Regions from separate parts of the Homo sapiens genome. Here all the other regions are linked to region 3. Evidence: promoter capture Hi-C in human tissues and cell types (Jung and others, 2019). All regions are on one chromosome and are shown on one strand. Each heading gives the region's core, a stretch centred on a gene start or on the middle of the fragment in contact. The rest is flanking DNA. Distances are from core to core; before and after follow the strand shown.

Evidence for each region. Contacts are between HindIII fragments. The study calls those that stand out against the background at their distance.
Region 1: the fragment with the promoter of BAX here is called in contact with the fragment with the promoter of ADM5 in region 3 in 1 of the 25 tissues and cell types used here (spleen).
Region 2: a fragment that was not itself captured here is called in contact with the fragment with the promoter of ADM5 in region 3 in 1 of the 25 tissues and cell types used here (dorsolateral prefrontal cortex).
Region 4: a fragment that was not itself captured here is called in contact with the fragment with the promoter of ADM5 in region 3 in 1 of the 25 tissues and cell types used here (pancreas).
Region 5: a contact is called between a fragment that was not itself captured here and the fragment with the promoter of ADM5 in region 3, in 1 of the 25 tissues and cell types used here (bladder).
Region 6: a contact is called between a fragment that was not itself captured here and the fragment with the promoter of ADM5 in region 3, in 1 of the 25 tissues and cell types used here (dorsolateral prefrontal cortex).

The regions. Positions count from the first base shown.
Region 1 is chr19:48,953,557-48,956,256 of GRCh38, reverse strand. BAX (BCL2 associated X, apoptosis regulator) reads right to left here and starts at 1,382. Exons shown (of 6, transcript NM_138761.4): 1 at 1,295-1,382; 2 at 658-709; 3 at 424-570; 4 at 1-59. The coding sequence starts at 1,328. RefSeq lists enhancers at 908-1,117, 567-1,134, 1,135-1,703 and a silencer at 1,238-1,387. The HindIII fragment of the contact is 13,021 bases long and covers 1-2,700 here.
Region 2 is chr19:49,006,953-49,009,652 of GRCh38, reverse strand. It overlaps RUVBL2 (RuvB like AAA ATPase 2), which reads right to left. Exons shown (of 15, transcript NM_006666.3): 5 at 2,506-2,635; 6 at 2,285-2,351. Among named protein-coding and RNA genes, the nearest start is that of MIR6798, 1.6 kb to the left of the region's middle. RefSeq lists an enhancer at 1-213. The HindIII fragment of the contact is 7,286 bases long and covers 1-2,700 here.
Region 3 is chr19:49,688,214-49,690,913 of GRCh38, reverse strand. ADM5 (adrenomedullin 5 (putative)) reads right to left here and starts at 1,320. Exons shown (of 2, transcript NM_001101340.2): 1 at 1,003-1,320; 2 at 339-808. The coding sequence starts at 1,076. The coding sequence ends at 421. It overlaps PRMT1 (protein arginine methyltransferase 1), which reads right to left. Exons shown (of 11, transcript NM_001536.6): 11 at 2,467-2,700. The coding sequence ends at 2,669. It also overlaps a transcript of CPT1C not described here. RefSeq lists a silencer at 861-930 and an enhancer at 2,239-2,700. The HindIII fragment of the contact is 11,781 bases long and covers 1-2,630 here.
Region 4 is chr19:49,145,304-49,148,003 of GRCh38, reverse strand. PPFIA3 (PPFI scaffold protein A3) reads right to left here. Exons shown (of 30, transcript NM_003660.4): 22 at 1,999-2,061; 23 at 1,812-1,838. Among named protein-coding and RNA genes, the nearest start is that of HRC, 8.7 kb to the left of the region's middle. The HindIII fragment of the contact is 3,877 bases long and covers 1-2,700 here.
Region 5 is chr19:50,347,874-50,350,573 of GRCh38, reverse strand. All of the region lies in intron 2 of LOC105372437 (a long non-coding RNA gene), which reads right to left. Among named protein-coding and RNA genes, the nearest start is that of NAPSA, 16 kb to the left of the region's middle. The HindIII fragment of the contact is 3,847 bases long and covers 1-2,700 here.
Region 6 is chr19:48,987,355-48,990,054 of GRCh38, reverse strand. GYS1 (glycogen synthase 1) reads left to right here. Exons shown (of 16, transcript NM_002103.5): 3 at 2,670-2,700. Among named protein-coding and RNA genes, the nearest start is that of GYS1, 4.6 kb to the left of the region's middle. RefSeq lists an enhancer at 1-290 and a silencer at 1,421-1,603. The HindIII fragment of the contact is 7,422 bases long and covers 1-2,700 here.

The DNA.
Region 1 (2,700 bases), core at 133-2,632, 730 kb after region 3:
CAGCTGCCACTCGGAAAAAGACCTCTCGGGGGGAGTCTGTGTCCACGGCGGCAATCATCCTGCAGGAGAGAGGAGAACCAGTGCCGGGGAGCAGGCATCAGGCTGATGGTGGAAAATTCCCGCATCCACCGCACACTAAAGATAAGGAGACTGAGCCCCAAGCCAGGCTGAAATGAAAAGCAACAGGCCAACGGGGGACAAGGGAAGGGGACAAGACAGACATTTAGGAAGGTGGGAAAAATGACTCCCTGAAGGAGGGTTTTAAGATCCTGGCAGAGAGGAGGGCTGGGAGTCCGGAATGTTTGCGCTGAGTTGTGGGGCCCAGACTCCTAGTTCTTAGGGGAGGAGGAGAATGCGGGGCTGAGAGTCCTGTGTCCTGAAGGAGCCCAGTGGCTGGACTTCTGGGTCCTCAGGGGCCCACACCTCTGCAGCTCCATGTTACTGTCCAGTTCGTCCCCGATGCGCTTGAGACACTCGCTCAGCTTCTTGGTGGACGCATCCTGAGGCACCGGGTCCAGGGCCAGCTCGGGTGCCTCCCCCCCCATTCGCCCTGCTCGATCCTGGATGAAACTAGAGTGGGGATGGAGTGAGGGTGCAGAATCAGAACGGGGTGTCACTCCTCAAATCTGTGCCACAATAATCAGACCTCAAACTCACCCCTGAAGCAAAAGGGCCCCTGTCTTCATGATCTGCTCAGAGCTGGTGGGCCCTAGAGGAGAAAGGAAGGGAAGAGGTACCTGGACTCTTGGGTTCTAGGGGATCAGGAGACTGTGGAGACTCACGGCCCCTGAGGGAGGACAGAGCTGGGGACCCTGGACTTCTGGGACCCTAGCAGATAAAGTGACGGGGGGGCCCAGACAACTGAGTCCCTGATGGAGAAAGGCCAGGAGGCTGGGCCTGTATCCTACATTCTCCCCGGGGAAAGAGGCTAGGGGAACGCTATATGCATCCAGACCCCTGGCCTGAGGGGGCAGAGGCGAGACCCGCCCCTCCCACCAGTGCCAGAGGCAGGAAGTGGTGCGGGCGACAAGCCCGGGCCTGCCCGGGGGCTTGGCTTCCGAGATCCCCTGGTTCTCGAGGGTCCGAGAGCGCCAGAGAGGCAGGGATCGGGACACGGGGATCAGAGAGCCAGGAACCTCCGAGGACGGAGGGGACTGGAGGCTGGCAGCGCCCGATCCGGGAGTTTCTGCCCCTCAGTGCTTGGAGATCGCACAGCCCCAGGCCGGTAGGAAGGATCCCGGACGGGCCGGCGAGGGGGCTCGCCCTCCTCCCGCCCGTCTGCCTCCCGCCTCACCCCCGCCTCTGGGCTGCTCCCCGGACCCGTCCATCACCGCCGCTCCCGCCGCCGCCTCTCGCCGGGTCCGCGCGGGCGGCCGCAGCGCGCCCGGGTCACGTGAGAGCCCCGCTGAACGTGCGTCCTTCACGTGGCCGCCCCGCAAAATGGCCGCTGCCCCGCAGCGCCGCCGGGTCACGTGACCGCACCTGCCTCGCTCCCTCGGGAGGTTTGGTCCCGTCACGTGACTGTCCAATGAGCATCTCCCGATAAGTGCCAGCAGTGGCGCCGTCCAACAGCCGTCCGTCCAATCGCAGCTCTAATGCCTTCATTTATCCAGGCACCATTTTTAGAAGTTTCGGGCAGGGTTTGAGCTCTCCCCAGCGCAGAAGGAATTAGCAAGTGCAAAAGCTCAGAGGCCCAAAATAGCATGCTTCCAGGCAGGACGTTATAGATGACTAAAAACTGAGTGGTTTTGTTTTTTGCAGAGACCTGGATCTAGCAATATAGCCCACGCCCAGGCTTGTCTCTAACTTGTGAGCCCAAGAGATAACCCCGTCTCAGCCTTCCAAAGCGCTGGGATTACAGGCATGAGCTACCGCGCCAGGCCTGCTTTTCTGTTTGTTTGTTTTTTCCTGTTTTTTTTTTTTTTTTTTTTGAGACAGGGTCTCACTGTGTTGCCCAGGCTGGAGTGCAGTGGCCCAATCATGGCTCACTGCAGTCTGGAATTCCCGGGCTGAAGCCTCCCACCTCAGCCTCCTGAGTAGCTGGGACTACACCGCCCCTGGTTAATTTTTAAAACTTTTTATGTGGAGATGAGGTCTCTCTATGTTGCCCAGGCTGGTCTCTGAACTCCCAGACTCAAGCGATCCTCGCACCTTGGCCTCCCAAAGTGCTGAGATTACAGGCTTGAGCCACCCCACCCAGTCATGACTCGAATGTTTGTGTTTGTGTAAAAAGAAAAGGAATATGAAGTTTAAAAAGTGGCAGAAACTAATCTGTGCTGATAGATCAGCAGGGTATGGAGGGGAGGGGCCACAAGAGACACTCCCCGGGTGCCCCAAATATGCCATATTTTTATCTGAATGGTGTTTACATGGGTATACACATTATTATTATTATTATTATTATTATTATTATTATTATTTTGAGACGGAGTTTTGCTCTTGTTGCCCAGGATGGAGTGCAATGGCACGATCTCGGCTTACTGCAACCTCTGCCTCCGGGTTCAAGCAATTCTCCTGCCTCAGCCTCCCAAGTAGCTGGAATTGCAGGCATGCGACACCACGCCCAGCTAATTTTGTATTTTTAGTAAAGATGGGGTTTCACTATGTTGGTCAGGCTGGTCTCAAGCTCCTGACCTCAAGTGATCCACCTGCCTCGGCCTCCCAAAGTGCTGGGATTACAGGCGTGAGCCACTGTGCCCG
Region 2 (2,700 bases), core at 98-2,597, 680 kb after region 3:
CAACACAAGGAAGCTCTCCAGGGAAGACATACGGTGCGCTCACCAGCCTGACGCGGTGATGGCTCCGCGGCTGAACATGTATGTCCCAACGGACCATACTGGACACTTGCAATGTGTACAGCTTTCTGTATGTCAATTAAAACTCAATAAAGTTCTTTTTTTTTTTGAGACGGAGTCTTGCTCTGTCGCCCACGCTGGAGTGTAGTAGCATGATCTCGGCTCACTGCAAGCTCTGCCTCCCGGGTTCACGCCATTCTCCTGCCTCAGCCTCCCGAGTAGCTGGGACTACAGGCGCCCGCCACCACGCATGGCTAATTTTTGTATTTTTAGTAGAGATGGGGTTTCACTGTGATAGCCAGGATGGTCTCGATCTCCTGACCTTGTGATCTGCCCACCTCGGCCTCCCAAAGTGCTGGGATTACAGGAGTGAGCTACTGCGCCTGGTGAATAAAGCTCTTTTTTTTTTTTTTTTTTTTTTTTTTTTTTTTTTTTGAGATAGAGTCTTGCTCTGTCGCCCAGGCTGGAGTGCAGTGGTGTGATCTCAGCTCACTCCAACCTCCATCTCCCGGGTTCAAGTAGTTCTCCTGCCTCAGCCTCCCAAGTAGCTGGGATTACAGATGTGTGCCACCATACCCAGCTAATTGTTTTGTGTTTTTATTATTTATTTATTTTTGAGATGGAGTTTCGCTCTTGTTGCCCAGGCTGGAGTGCAATGGTGTGATCTCGGCTTACTGCAACTTCTGCCTCCCAGATTCAAGCGATTCTCCTGCCTTAGCCTCCCAAGTAGCTGGGATTACAAGCACCCACCACCACGCCCAGCTAATTTTTTGTATTTTTAGTAGAGACAGGGTTTCACCATGTTGGTCAGGCTGGTCTTGAACTCCTGACTTCAGGTGATCCACCCGCCTCGGCCTCCCAAAGTGCTGGGATTATAGGCATGAACCACCGCGCCCAGCCATTTTGTATTTTTAGTATAGACAGGGTTTCACCATGTTAGTCAGGCTCGTTTCGAACTCCTGATCTCAAGTGATCGCCCACCTCAGCCTCCCAAAGTGCTGGGATTACAGGTGTGAGCCACTGCGCCTGGCCAAAACTCAATAAAGCTCTTAATAAAAATAGTAAACAGGCAGGGTGCAGTGGCTCACACCTGTAATCCCAGCACTTTGGGAGGCCGAGGCGGGCAGATCACAAGGTCAGGAGATCGAGACCACAGTGAAACCCCGTCTCTACTAAAAATACAAAAAATTAGCCGGGCGTGGTGGCAGGTGCCTGTAGTCCCAGCTACTCGGGAGGCTGAGGCAGGAGAATGGCATGAACCCGGGAGGCAGAGCTTGCCGTGAGCTGAGATTGTGCCACTGCACTCCAGCCTGGGCAACAGAGCAAGACTCCATCTCAAAAAAAAAATTATAATAAAATAAAATAAAAATAAAAAATAAAAATAGTAAACAAACAACATGCCTAAAAAATAAAGTCTATCAAAAACAACATAGGCCCGAGGTCTCGCAAAATTGCCAAATGTCACACTTTGACATTCCTATTTTATACCCAAATAAAAAGTGTTTTTGTTGATCACAAAATCAGAAAACACAGCTATGCAAAAAGGAGAAAACAGAAATTGTAAAAAAAAAAAAAAAAAAAAAAAAAGAGGCCAGGTATGGTGGCTCACGGCTGTAATCCCAGCACTTTGGGAGGCCAAGGTGGGCAGATCACGAGGTCAGGAGTTCAAGACCAGCCTGGCCAACATGGTGAAACCCCGTCTCTACTGAAAGTACAAAAATTAGCCGGGCGTGGTGGCATGCACACACCTGTAATCTCAGCTACTCGGAAGGCTGAGGCAGAAGAATCACTTGAACCTGGGAGGCAGAGGTTGCAGTGAGCCGAGATTGCACCACTGCATTCCAGTCTGGGGGACAGAGGGAGACTCTGTCTCGAAAACAAAAAAAAAAGAGAGAGCAAATCACCTGTATCATGTAAGATGGACAGGACATGCCTTTCGGCCACGGAACGAGTTTTGAAGTCTGTTGGGTTTTGAGGTCTGTTGGGAACTCACTAACAGATCTCTCTCATTATTTTACCGCCTCAGTTTCTATTGCCCATAATGTCCTTCATAAGGGGATAAGCCATTGTCAAGTTAACTGACCTCCTACTGTAGGCATGTACATGGCTCTAGTCTGCAGCTAGAACATTCCATGGGATTCTGACCTCAGTGCAGACCTGATATCTACTCTCTCCAACCCTGGCGCTGGAGGTGGCCTCAGCAGGGTACAGACTCACACAGACTCACCGTCCCTGTTGCTGGTCGATCAATCTGGATCTCCACCACCTCCCCTTCGATGATCTCCGTCTCCTCCCTAGCCAGAGAGCAGATCTGAGGAGACAGCCTGACACCTGGACCCTCGGGAATCACAACCTTCCATGAGCTCTGGGACAAAGGACGAGCCGCCCGGGGTGCGGGGTTGCTCCCAGGCTCTGGGGTCTGGCACCCGCCTCGGGTCCCCCGCTTACTTGATGCGAACGCCGATGGACCGCCGGAAGGCCTGCGTCAGCGCCTCGGTCTTGCTCATCTCCAGGGAGAAGATTTCACTGCCGGCGATGGCTGTGAATGGCGTGTCAGGGCCCAGGGCCTGCGCCATGCCTGGGAAGGAGGCAGTCTGTGTAGGTGAAGCCGCTCTGGCACCAGGTCCCCGACACCTGCTCTGT
Region 3 (2,700 bases), core at 71-2,570:
TGTCTCTTAGTCTCCTGTCTCTTCGAGGAACAAGGCTCAGCTGGGAGGTCGCAGCCCACCCCAGGTGCATTATAACGTCAGGCGCGTAGGGTGCCGGAGCAAATCTCAGCCCTTTCACGCCAGGGAGGGAGGAGGGATGTTTGGGGGTCAGGACGGCCCGCCAAAACCACCCACGGAAGGTGCATGGATTGAGTTGGCAAGAAAGGCGCCACAGCGGGTTGGATTCAAGGTAGACAGTGGGACTTCCGTGAGGGAGAAGCAGCATGGCTAATAGAGAAAGGTATATTAGAGACCCAGCCTCGACTGAGAGGTCGAAATAGGTACAGAGAAGCAGAGACTGAAACACGGAACTCTTGTTTATTCGGCTCTGGGCGTCAGTGTTCTTCGCCCAGCCTGGTCCCGTGTGCTTCTAGGTCCAACCTAGTCGCAGCCCGGGGAGGGACTGGGGAAGACGGTTTCAGGGGCTGGAGTTAGGGGAGAAGAAATGTGGAGTAGAAGCTCCAACATACAGATAGGCAAACTGAAGCCGAGGAGGGGACGAGCCGTGCCCGAGGTCACCCAGCGAGCTGGGCACTGCGCTAGCCCCCTCGCTGCAGGCCGGAATCCTGGGAACCGAGCCGGGCTTCCGCCTCGCGCCACCGGCGGCGCCCATAGCTGTAGGGGTCCTGGGGCTCGTGGCTGGCCTTCCCCGAGGGCTCCTTGGTGGAGACAGCGAATCCAGTATATGATCTCCGCCAGGCGGTGGGTCCGGCATACGCCCAGGTAGCAGACGTGCCCGCGGTGCTGGGGGACCTGGTGCTGGCCTCGCCTGGAGAGGGAGCGTGGGAGAAAACCGGGTTCAAACCGAATTGAGAGATGGAGCGTGATGGAGGTGGGCACCCAAGCACTCCAAGACCAGCGGGGAGGCTTACAGATCACCTGCCCGTTCCGCGGCCGGGAGAGGGCGCTCGCCCTTTACGGTCTCCCTCCCGCCCTGTCCCTGCTGCCACCCGGGTTTCTCACCTGGCTGCAGTGTCCAGGTCCCCTTGGGCGGAGAAGGCGAGGAGCAACAGCAGGATGAGGATGTGGATAGTCATCGTGGGCAGGGCGGGTCAGGATCCGTGGCCCGTAGTTGCGGCCACCCCGCCCCGTTCCCGCACCGGGCTGATCGCCTCTGGGTGCAGCTCTGGAGCCAGGTACCAGGGCCAGTCCCCACTTCCCAGGCGGGGAACACTGAGGCCAAAAGTCTGTGGGAAGAGGCCGCACCACACCAGAGGGGCAGGATTCAAACCCGGGTCCCCGCTTCCCGCACCGCGGCTCCAGAGACCTCACTGGGTGTGTGGGGTCACACCAGCTGCTGTCTATCCCCCTAGGAGGTCTGTGGAGACTCGCCCCCTTCAAAGCGTGGGGAAATGGGGCGGGGCCAATGACACCCGCAGGTAGCTAAGCAGCGGGATTCCAAGAAAAGGGGTGGCGGCGGGGAAGCGCTGGCTCTGGTTGTAGATGCGACCTCACCCTCACCCTGTCGGGAAGCCGGTTAGTAGACAGTTGGGACCCTGGAACCTCGGGGGCCAGGCAATGCAGGGCAAGTGCACATGCGGCCCCCTGGAGGGCGTGGAGCGAGGGAGACCCCAAACACACTGAGGAGCGCCCCTCCGGAAGAGAAAAGGCCGAGGTGTCAGGCACTCGCCGGTGAGGGCTCCAGTTGCACTGAAGCAGGTGTAGCCAGGGCTGTTCAACGAGGAGGGTGTCCTGGGTCAACCAGGTCGAGTGCACAGTATTGTGGGGGACCCAGGACCCCGTGGCCAGGCCCTGAGGGTGGAAGGGTGGGTGCAGACGCCATGTCTGCAGCAGAGGCAGAGGGACCTCGTCTTCACCTCTGTAAGATGGGTAGGCCCTGCCACCTTACAGCTGCAACTCCCACTGACCTCCATGGAGGGCAAGTCCCCAGCCCTAAGCCCCAAGCCATTCTAGGGGAGGAAGCAGGGCCACTCCCCCATGAGAAATTCTATCCTTGCAAACATACACCCCCAACCCACTCAGTGTCCCCAGCTGCAGAGGGCTGGGCACAGTTGGGCCTTGAAGGGACCCGAACAGGAAAAAACAGCCAGAGAGGAACAATGTCGAGTGTTGGGGGGAGGTGGGGAGACTGTTCTGGGAAACTTGAGGGCTGGCTGTGCTGGAAAGCCACCCCCATCCCCTACTAGGCAGGACACGGGTACCGCAGAGGGGAGGGGCGCAGACCCAGGAGAGGGATGAAAAGAGTTGGACAAAGACCCTGAGAGACAGCTGTGGAGGACAGGGACCCCGAGAAGGAACCAAGGAAGGGGAGCAAGAGGCCTAGAGACGGGGGACGGGAGACGCAGATCCACAGAATGGCAGCCACCAGCAGGTGCCAAGGCCGGTCCCCCCACTGCTGAGGCTGGCACTGCAGTACCTGCGAAAGGAACCCCAAACCTCCTTTGCCCCCAGGAAACAAAGCCAGACCCCAGCTGAGGATTTATTGGCGTAAATGCAACCATATAAAAACATAAGTTATGAAAAACACAGTCACGATGTGCCCTCCCCATCCCCCCAGCCCAGGCCCCTAAAACCCCCTTCTGCGGGAGGGAGGGAGAGGAAGGGGGAGCCCCGAAACCGCCTAGGAACGCTCAGCCCCTGGGCTCGTGCAGGGCGGGAGAGCCGGGCCTCAGCGCATCCGGTAGTCGGTGGAGCAGGACA
Region 4 (2,700 bases), core at 19-2,518, 540 kb after region 3:
TCCCAATCCAAGGTTTTTTCCCACCCCATGGTAGGACAATGACCAATCTCTGCTCAGGATAATGGACCAATCCAGAGTTGTCTCCTAGCCCTTCATGACAGCATATACTCTTGGCTACTCAAACAGTTGTCCTGAGACCTAGAGCGTCACCATCACCTGTGGACTTGCTGGAATTGCAGAATCTCAGACCTTACTCCAGACCTACTGAAGTCGGTATCGGCATTTTCACAAGACCCTCAGGTGATTCGAAATATACATTATATTTATTTTTAAATTTCTTTCTTTCTCTCTTTCTCTCTCTCTCTCTCTCTCTCTCTTTCTGAAAGAGTCTGCTATGTCACCCAGGCTGGAGCGCGGTGGCACGATCTCGTCTCACTGCAACCTCCCCATCCCAGGTTCAAGCAATTCTCTTGCCTCAGCCTTCGAGTAGCTGGGATTACAGGTACGAGCCACCACGCCCGGCTAATTTTTGTATTTTTTAGTAGAGACGGCGTTTCACCATGTTGGCCAGGCTGGTCTCAAACTCCTGACCTCAAGGGATCCGCCCACCTCAGCCTCCCAACGTGCTGGGATTACAGGCATGAGCCACCGCGCCTGGCTGTATTTGTTTATTTTTTAGAGACAGGGTCTTACTATGTTGCCCAGGTTGACCTCAGCTTCGTGGGCTCAAGCGGTCCTCCTGCCTCAGTCTTCCAAGTAGCTGAGACTACAGGTGTGTGCCACCCCACTACACATTAAATTTGGGGAAGCACTGCTTTAACTCTGTCTCACTGCAGTCCAACGTCACTAAACCCCCAAGTCAGGACAATGGACTCTTTCAAGGCAGCTCTCCCACTAAGAAAGGGCCATCACTCTTGCAATGTCCTGAAAATACTTGTCTAATGTTATATCTGGCCCAGGACAATATTCCAGATGAGTCCCAAGTCCCTCACTCCTTTCAGCATCAGCACAAAATCCACGCCTCCCCCTGGCTGGAAATATGTGATCTATGACCACAGTCAAACATAATTCCTCCGTGGACAGTGAGTTCATGCCTCTTGGGTTTTTTTGTTAGTTTATTTGTTTGGTTTTTATGAGATGGAATCTGGCTCTATCACCCAGGCTGGAGTACAATGGTGCAATCTCGGCTCAGTGCAACCTCTACCTCCTGGGTTCAAGCGATTCTCCTGCCTCAGCCTCCCAAGTAGCTGGGATTACATACGCTAGCCACTGCACCCGGCTAATTTTTGTATTTTTAGTAGACACAGGGTTTCACCATGTTGGCCAGACTGGTCTCAAACTCCTGACCTCAGGTGATCTGCCCACCTCAGCCTCCTAAAGTGCTGGAATTACAGGCGTGAGCCACTGCGCCCGGCCGCCTCTTGTTTCTTGAGAACAAAGTGTAGCTCCTCCTCCCCAACTTCTCATTCAGCCTGGCTGCCTCACCACCACCACAGCCAGTGTGTCCTCCTTGGCCCTGGTACACTGAGCAGTCCACTGTAGCCCCCGCCCCCTCCACTATAGGGACACCGGCTGCTCAGTCTCTCCTGAGCTACAGAATTGAAGCCCCTTAGAGCCCCCACAACCCACGATGATGAAATGGTCCATGCATAAGGCTGACTATGCAACAGTCTGGGCTTCCACATCGCATCCCCTCTACCCTCCCCACCGCCAAGCCATAATGGAACAGTCCAGAGCCAAGCTTGGCGCAGCGCCCCCCCATGGGGATGATGGCATGTTCTGGTGAAGGCAGGGGCAGGGCTCGGAGGAGGGGCATCCATGCGTCGTGCACAGCCTGTTCATGCGCTCACGCCCCGCCCCGCGCCCCCTACCTGCTCCCAGCTGATCTCCTTGGTCTCCTGACCCGTTAGTAGGAAGAGGGGAGAGAAGGGGTGAGTTAAGGGGCAGGCAGAGGAGGACGCAAGGAGCGGACTTAGGGATGGCCACAGACTCGGTCCCCGCCCCCACCCCCAAAGAAGGTTAGTGCCACCCCCAAGGCGGCCGGCAGGGGGCACTCACGGGCTTGGTCGTGGCCGTAAGGGACTCCATCTCCTCGTGTGTCATCCACACGTTTCCTGTGGACTGAGGGGCAGGGAGTGTTAATGGATGGTGGGAGAGGGCTTCGCGTGGGGGAGAGGAAGGAGGGTGTCCTCCTGAAGGCCCTGGGCCACACGTTTATGTCCCTCCTGCTTTCTGGGGCAAGCAGTAACAGAGAAAAGGAATGATTCTTATTATAGGGCACCTGCCATGTACCAGGCAATGTGACTTTGGAGTTGAACAAATTCAGGTTGGAATTGGGACCCTGCCATGCATTTTGCTGTGTGGCCCTGTGCAAATGACGTCACCTCGCTGACCTCACACAGAGGTACAGAATGAGGATTCAGAAGTGGGGGACAGACACAGCCATGGTGCAAATGTTTAGGGAGTATGGCGGGGGGGGTTCACATTTATTGAGCTTCTGCTCCCAACAACCTCACGAGTTAGGAATCCATACAAGGATAAAAACATTTATGTACTTCTGGTGAGTGTCAGGCACCAGTCACCGTCATAGGGTGTGGGATATGGCAAGGGACACGACAGACACTTTTCGTCCTAGTGGGGGAGAAACAATGAACATATTTTAAGTATGTTGGGGAAATTTGAATACAGAGTGAATAGTAAATGAAATTAACAACTGTGGCCAGGCGTGGTGGCTCACACCTGTAGTGCCAGCACTTTGGG
Region 5 (2,700 bases), core at 47-2,546, 660 kb before region 3:
TGGGAGGCTGAGGTGAATGGATCACTTGAGGCCCAGAGTTTGAGACCAGCCTGGCCAACATGATGAAACCTAGTCTCTGCTAAAATCACAAAGATTAGCCAGGCGTGGTGGCACACAGCTGTAATCCCAGCTGCTTGGGAGGCTGAGGCATGAGAATCGCTTGAACCTGAGAGGCAGAGGTTGCCGTGAGCTGAGATCATGACACTGCACTCCAGCCTGGGTGACAGAGTGAGACTCTGTCTCAAAAAAACAAAACAAACAAAAACCACAGCATTAATAGGCTTGGGAGGCCCCCTGATACAGATATGGCTTAGATCACAATCCTCAAGTCCTTTTGAATACCTGGAAAGCCTTCCCAAGAAGGACAGGTACAAACAAGTCTACATGCTGCCTGCCGACCTCAGAGTTCTGGGAAGGTGGAGCGAATGAGTCGGACTATCAAAAATAGTTTAAGGAAAGTATGTCAAGAGACAAGATTAAAATGGATACAGGCCCTTCCTATGGTATTGTTTAAAACAGGTGCACCCCCTCTAAGAAAACAGGACACTCCCCTTATGAAATATTATATCATAGGCCTCCTCCTATGCCGCGAGGGCTTCTGGGTACTCCCCAAGAGTTGGGTGAAATTGAATTGCAGCGACAGCTACAGGCCTTGGGGAAAATTACCGAGACAATCTCAACTTGGGTAAATGAGGTGCCCGGTCAGCTTATTCTCCCCAGTTCACCCTTTTTCTCCAGGTGACCGCGTGTGGATCAAGGACTGGAACGTAGCTCCCTTAGGGCCATAGTGGAAGGGACCCCAGACCGTTATCCTGACCACTCCCACGGCTGTGAAGGTAGAAGGAATTCCGGCCGGGATTCACCACAGCTGCGGAAAGCCTGCAGCCACTGGAACCTGGGAGGCCAAACCAGGCCTAGACAATCCCTGCAAAGTAACCCTGAGGAGGACGACAAGCCCTGCTCCAGTCACACCCGGAAGCTGACTGGCCTATTCGCGGCCGAAGCATGAGGAAAATCGTCGTGGGACTTACTTTCCTTATAACACGGACTTGTGTGGTAAAAGCTTCCACTGCTTCTTCCCACACAGAGGACTGCTTTCAGTGCATACCTCAGGTCACTGAGGTAGGACAACAAGTTAAGACAATCTTTTTGTTCTATAGTTATTATGAAGGCCTAGGAATTCCAAAAGGAACATGTTTGTATAATAACACTCAGTACAAAGTCTGTGATCCAGGAAGTGACCAGCCCGATGTGTGCTATGACCCCTCTGAACCTCCCATTTCCACAGTTTTTGAAATAAGATTAAGGACTGAACACTGGCAGGGACTCATAAATGATACAAGTAAAGTATTAGCCAGAACAGAAGAAAAAGGGGTGCCCAAATGCATAATCTTAAGATTTGACGCTGTGCTGTCATTAATAGCAATAAGTTAGGAGCAGGATGTGGCTCTTTTAATTAGGAAAAAACTACATGACCGAAAATAAGTACATCTGTCATGAATCAGGATTGTGTGGAAAAGAATGTGGGTACTGGTCTTGTGTCATTTAGGCTACTTGGGAAAAAAAAAATGAAAAAGATCCTGTTTTGCTCCAAAAAGGGAAAGGAAGCCTGTCCTGCATGAGTGGAAGCTGCAACCCTTTAAAATTAGTAATCACAAGCCCCTCAGACCCAAAATAGAAAAAAGGAAAATACTTATCTCTAGGCATTGATGGAAAAAGACTAGACCCTAGGGTAAACATTTTAATAAAAGGAGAGGTTCGAACATGCTCTCCAGAGCCAGTATTTCACACTTTCTATGATGAACAAAATGTGCCAGTGCCTGAAATTCCAGGAAAAACTAGACATTTGTTTTTGCAGTTAGCCGAGCATGTAGCCCAGTCTCTAAAAGTCACTTCGTGTTTTGTTTGTGGAGCAACTGTAACAGGAGATCAGTGGCCATGGGAAGCCCGAGAATGAGTTCCTACAGACCCAGTTCCTGATGAATTCTCGGCCCAAAAGAACCACCCTGACAATTTCTGGGTTCTAAAAGCCTCAATTATTGGACAATGTTGCATAGCTAGAGAAGGAAAAGAATTCACTCATCCTGTAGGACAGGTTAGTTGTCTTGGACAAAAACTGTATAATGGTACCACAAAAACAGTTACATGGTGGAGTTCCAATTACACGGAAAAAAATCCATTCCGTAAATTTCCAAAATTGCAGACTGTTTAGGCCCACCCAGAATTCCACTGGGACTGGACTGCCCCTACTGGGTTATACTGGATATGTGGACATAGAGCTTATGCTAAGCTATCTGATCAGTAGACAGGTAGCTGTGTAATTGGCACTATTAAACCATCTTTCTTCCTGCTGCCCATAAAAACAACAAACTCTTAGGATTCCCTGTCTATGCTTCCCGTGAAAAACGAAGCATAGCCATAGGTAACTGGAAAGATGATGATGGCCCCCTGAAAGAATTATACAATACTATGGGCCCGCCACTTGGGCATAAGATGGCTCATAGGGATATTGGACCCCCATCTACATGCTCAACTGAATCATACAGTTGCAAGCTGTTTTAGAAATTATTACTAATTAAACTGGTCAAGCCTTGACTGTTCTTGCCCGGCAAGAGACTCAGATGAGGAATGCTATCTACCAAAATAGACTAGCTCTCGACTACTTGCTAGCAGCTGAAGGAGGAGTTTGTGGAAAATTTA
Region 6 (2,700 bases), core at 84-2,583, 700 kb after region 3:
TGAGGGCAGCTGCTTCCCACGTGCTGGGGGCCTAAGAATAGCCCCCCCCCCCCCCCAGCAAAAGGGCAGACAACAGCTGGGAGGGGGAGGGACCTCAGAGCGAGGCTCCAGGCAGCAAAAAGCCAGGTCGGCGAGGAGCGGGGCTGCTTCTCCACTGCTGTGGCAGCAGGCCCAGAACCAAAGCCATGGTCTCAGGGAGGAAAACAGCCAACTGGAGAAATGTGGCAGAGGCAGAAGTGAGACAGCAAGTCTTAGAAACACGGCAGTGGCTAGAAAAATGCAGCCCTGGGGCACGGACAGAGGATGGGCTATGTTAGAAATGTGTGGCGTGGCCGAGGGCGGTGGCTCATGCCTGGAATCCCAGCACTTTGGGAGGCCGAGGTGAGAGGATAGCTTGAGCCCAGGAGTTCCTGACCCACCTGGGCAACATGGCGAAACTCTGTCTCTACTAAAAATACAAAAAATTAGCCAGGCATGATGGTGCGTGCTCGTGATCCCAGTTACTCAGGAGGCTGAGGTGGGAGGATGGGATGTGGAGGCTGTAGTGAGCCATAATTTTTTTTTTTTTTTTTTCAGATAGAATCTCACTCTGTCGCTGAGTCTGGAGTGCAGTGGTACAATCTCGACTCACTGCAACCTCCGCCTCCCGCGTTCAAGCAATTCTCCTGCCTCGGCCTCCCAAGTAGCTGGGACCTCAGGCACATGCTGCCACGCCCGGCTAATTTTTTGTATTTTAGTAGAGACAGGGTTTCACCATGTTGCCCAGGCTGGTCTCAAACTCCTGAGCTCAGGCAATCCGCCCGCCTCGGCCCCCCAAAGAGCTAGGATTACAGGCGTGAGCCACCGCGCCCAGCCCAGTGAGCCATGATTGCACCACTGCACTCCAGCCTGGGTGACCGGAGTGAGACCCTGTCAAAAACAAAAACAAACAAAAAAAAATGGAAGAAAGAAAGAAAAAGGAGAGAGGGAGGGAAGGAGGGAGAGAGGGAAGGAAGGAAGGAAGGAAGCAAGGAAGGAAGGAAGGAGGCTGTGGACTACAAAATGGGCCTATGGATAGAGGAAAGAGGTCGCAGGTGACAGATATGTGATGAAAGGAACAGAAACAAGGCATCATGGGGAAGAAAAGTGGCAGCATGAACAGTAAGAGAATCATTACAGGCTGGGTGCAGTAGCTCACGCCTGTAATCCCAGCACTTTGGTAGGCTGAGGCCAGGAGTTTGAGACCAGCCTGGGCAACATGGTGAAACCCTGTCCTTACAAAAAAGTTAAAAATTAGCCGGGATGTGATACCTTGTGCCTGTGGTCCCAGCTACGTGGGAAGCTGCGGTGGAAGGATTGCTTGAGCCTGGGAGATCGAAGCTTCAGTGAACCGTAATTGCACCACTCCCTTCCAGGCTGGAGGACAGAGCAAGACCCCGTCTCTGAAAATAAAAAAGGGCCTGCTTTAGGTGGCTCACACTTCTAATCTCAACACTTTGGGAGGCTAAGCAAGAAAACTGCTTGAACGCAGGAGTTCACGATCAGCCTGGGCAACATAGTGAGACCCCATCTCCACAAAAAATTAAAAAATCAGCCTGGCATGGTGGCCCACGCCTGTAGGAGGTGAGGTGGGAGGATTGACTGAGCCAGGGAGGTTGAGGCTATAGTGAACCATGTTCACACCACTGCACTCCAGCCTGGGCAACAGAGCGAGACCCTGTCTGAAAACAAAAAAGAAGCATCCCGTGGAAGGAATTAGCATCAGAAAGAAAAGACAGTGGGAGATGCAGATGGTTGGTAAGAGAAATGTGGCAGCAAGTACAGAAACAAGGCAGCAGGTAGGGGAAATGATTTGCAGAGTGGCCAGACAGGGCAGTGGGGGCATAGACACAGGACATGTGACATATGTGGTTATAAGCAGAGAAAGGAGGCAGCGAGTGGGAGAAGGGTAGCAGTTACAGGAATTAAACAGGAGGCTGGGTGCGGTGGCTCACGCCTGTAATCCCAGCACTTTGGGACGCCGAGGCGGGCGGATCACAAGGTCGGGAAATGGAGATCATCCTGGCTAACACAGTGAAACCTCGTCTCTACTGAAAATACAAAAAAAAGTAGCCGGGCGTGGTGGCGGGCCGCTGTAGTCCCAGCTACTCGGGAGGCTGAGGCAGGAGAATGGTGTGAACCCAGGAGGCAGAGGTTGCAGTGAGCCGAGATCATGCCACGGCACTCCAGCCTGGGCAACAGAGCCAGACTCCGTCTCAAGAAAAAAAAAAAATTAGCCAGGTGTGGGAGCGGGTGCCTGTAATCCCAGCTACTTGGGAGGCTGAGGCAGGAGAATTGCTTGAACCCGGGAGACAGAGGTTGCAGTGAGCTGAGATCGCACCACTGCACTCCAGCCTGGGCCACAGAGTGAGACTCCATCTCAAAAAAAAGAAAGAAAGAAAGTAAGCAGGGGGCACGGAAAATATTGCAACAGAGATGGAAAAAATGTGTAGCAGGAATAAATCATGCAAATAGAGAAGTAAGGCTAAGGCAGCAGGTGAGAAATTAGCAGCAGATATGGAAACAGAAGATAAGAGAGCTGAGGCTTAAGTCTATAGACATCTGCCTGCAAATGGGAGAACCACGGATGAGTGAAGATATGAGGCTGAAGCCCAGAGCCTCCCTATGGTGCCTCCCCAACCCCATCCCAGGTGTATTTCGGGCGCTGGCTGATCGAGGGAG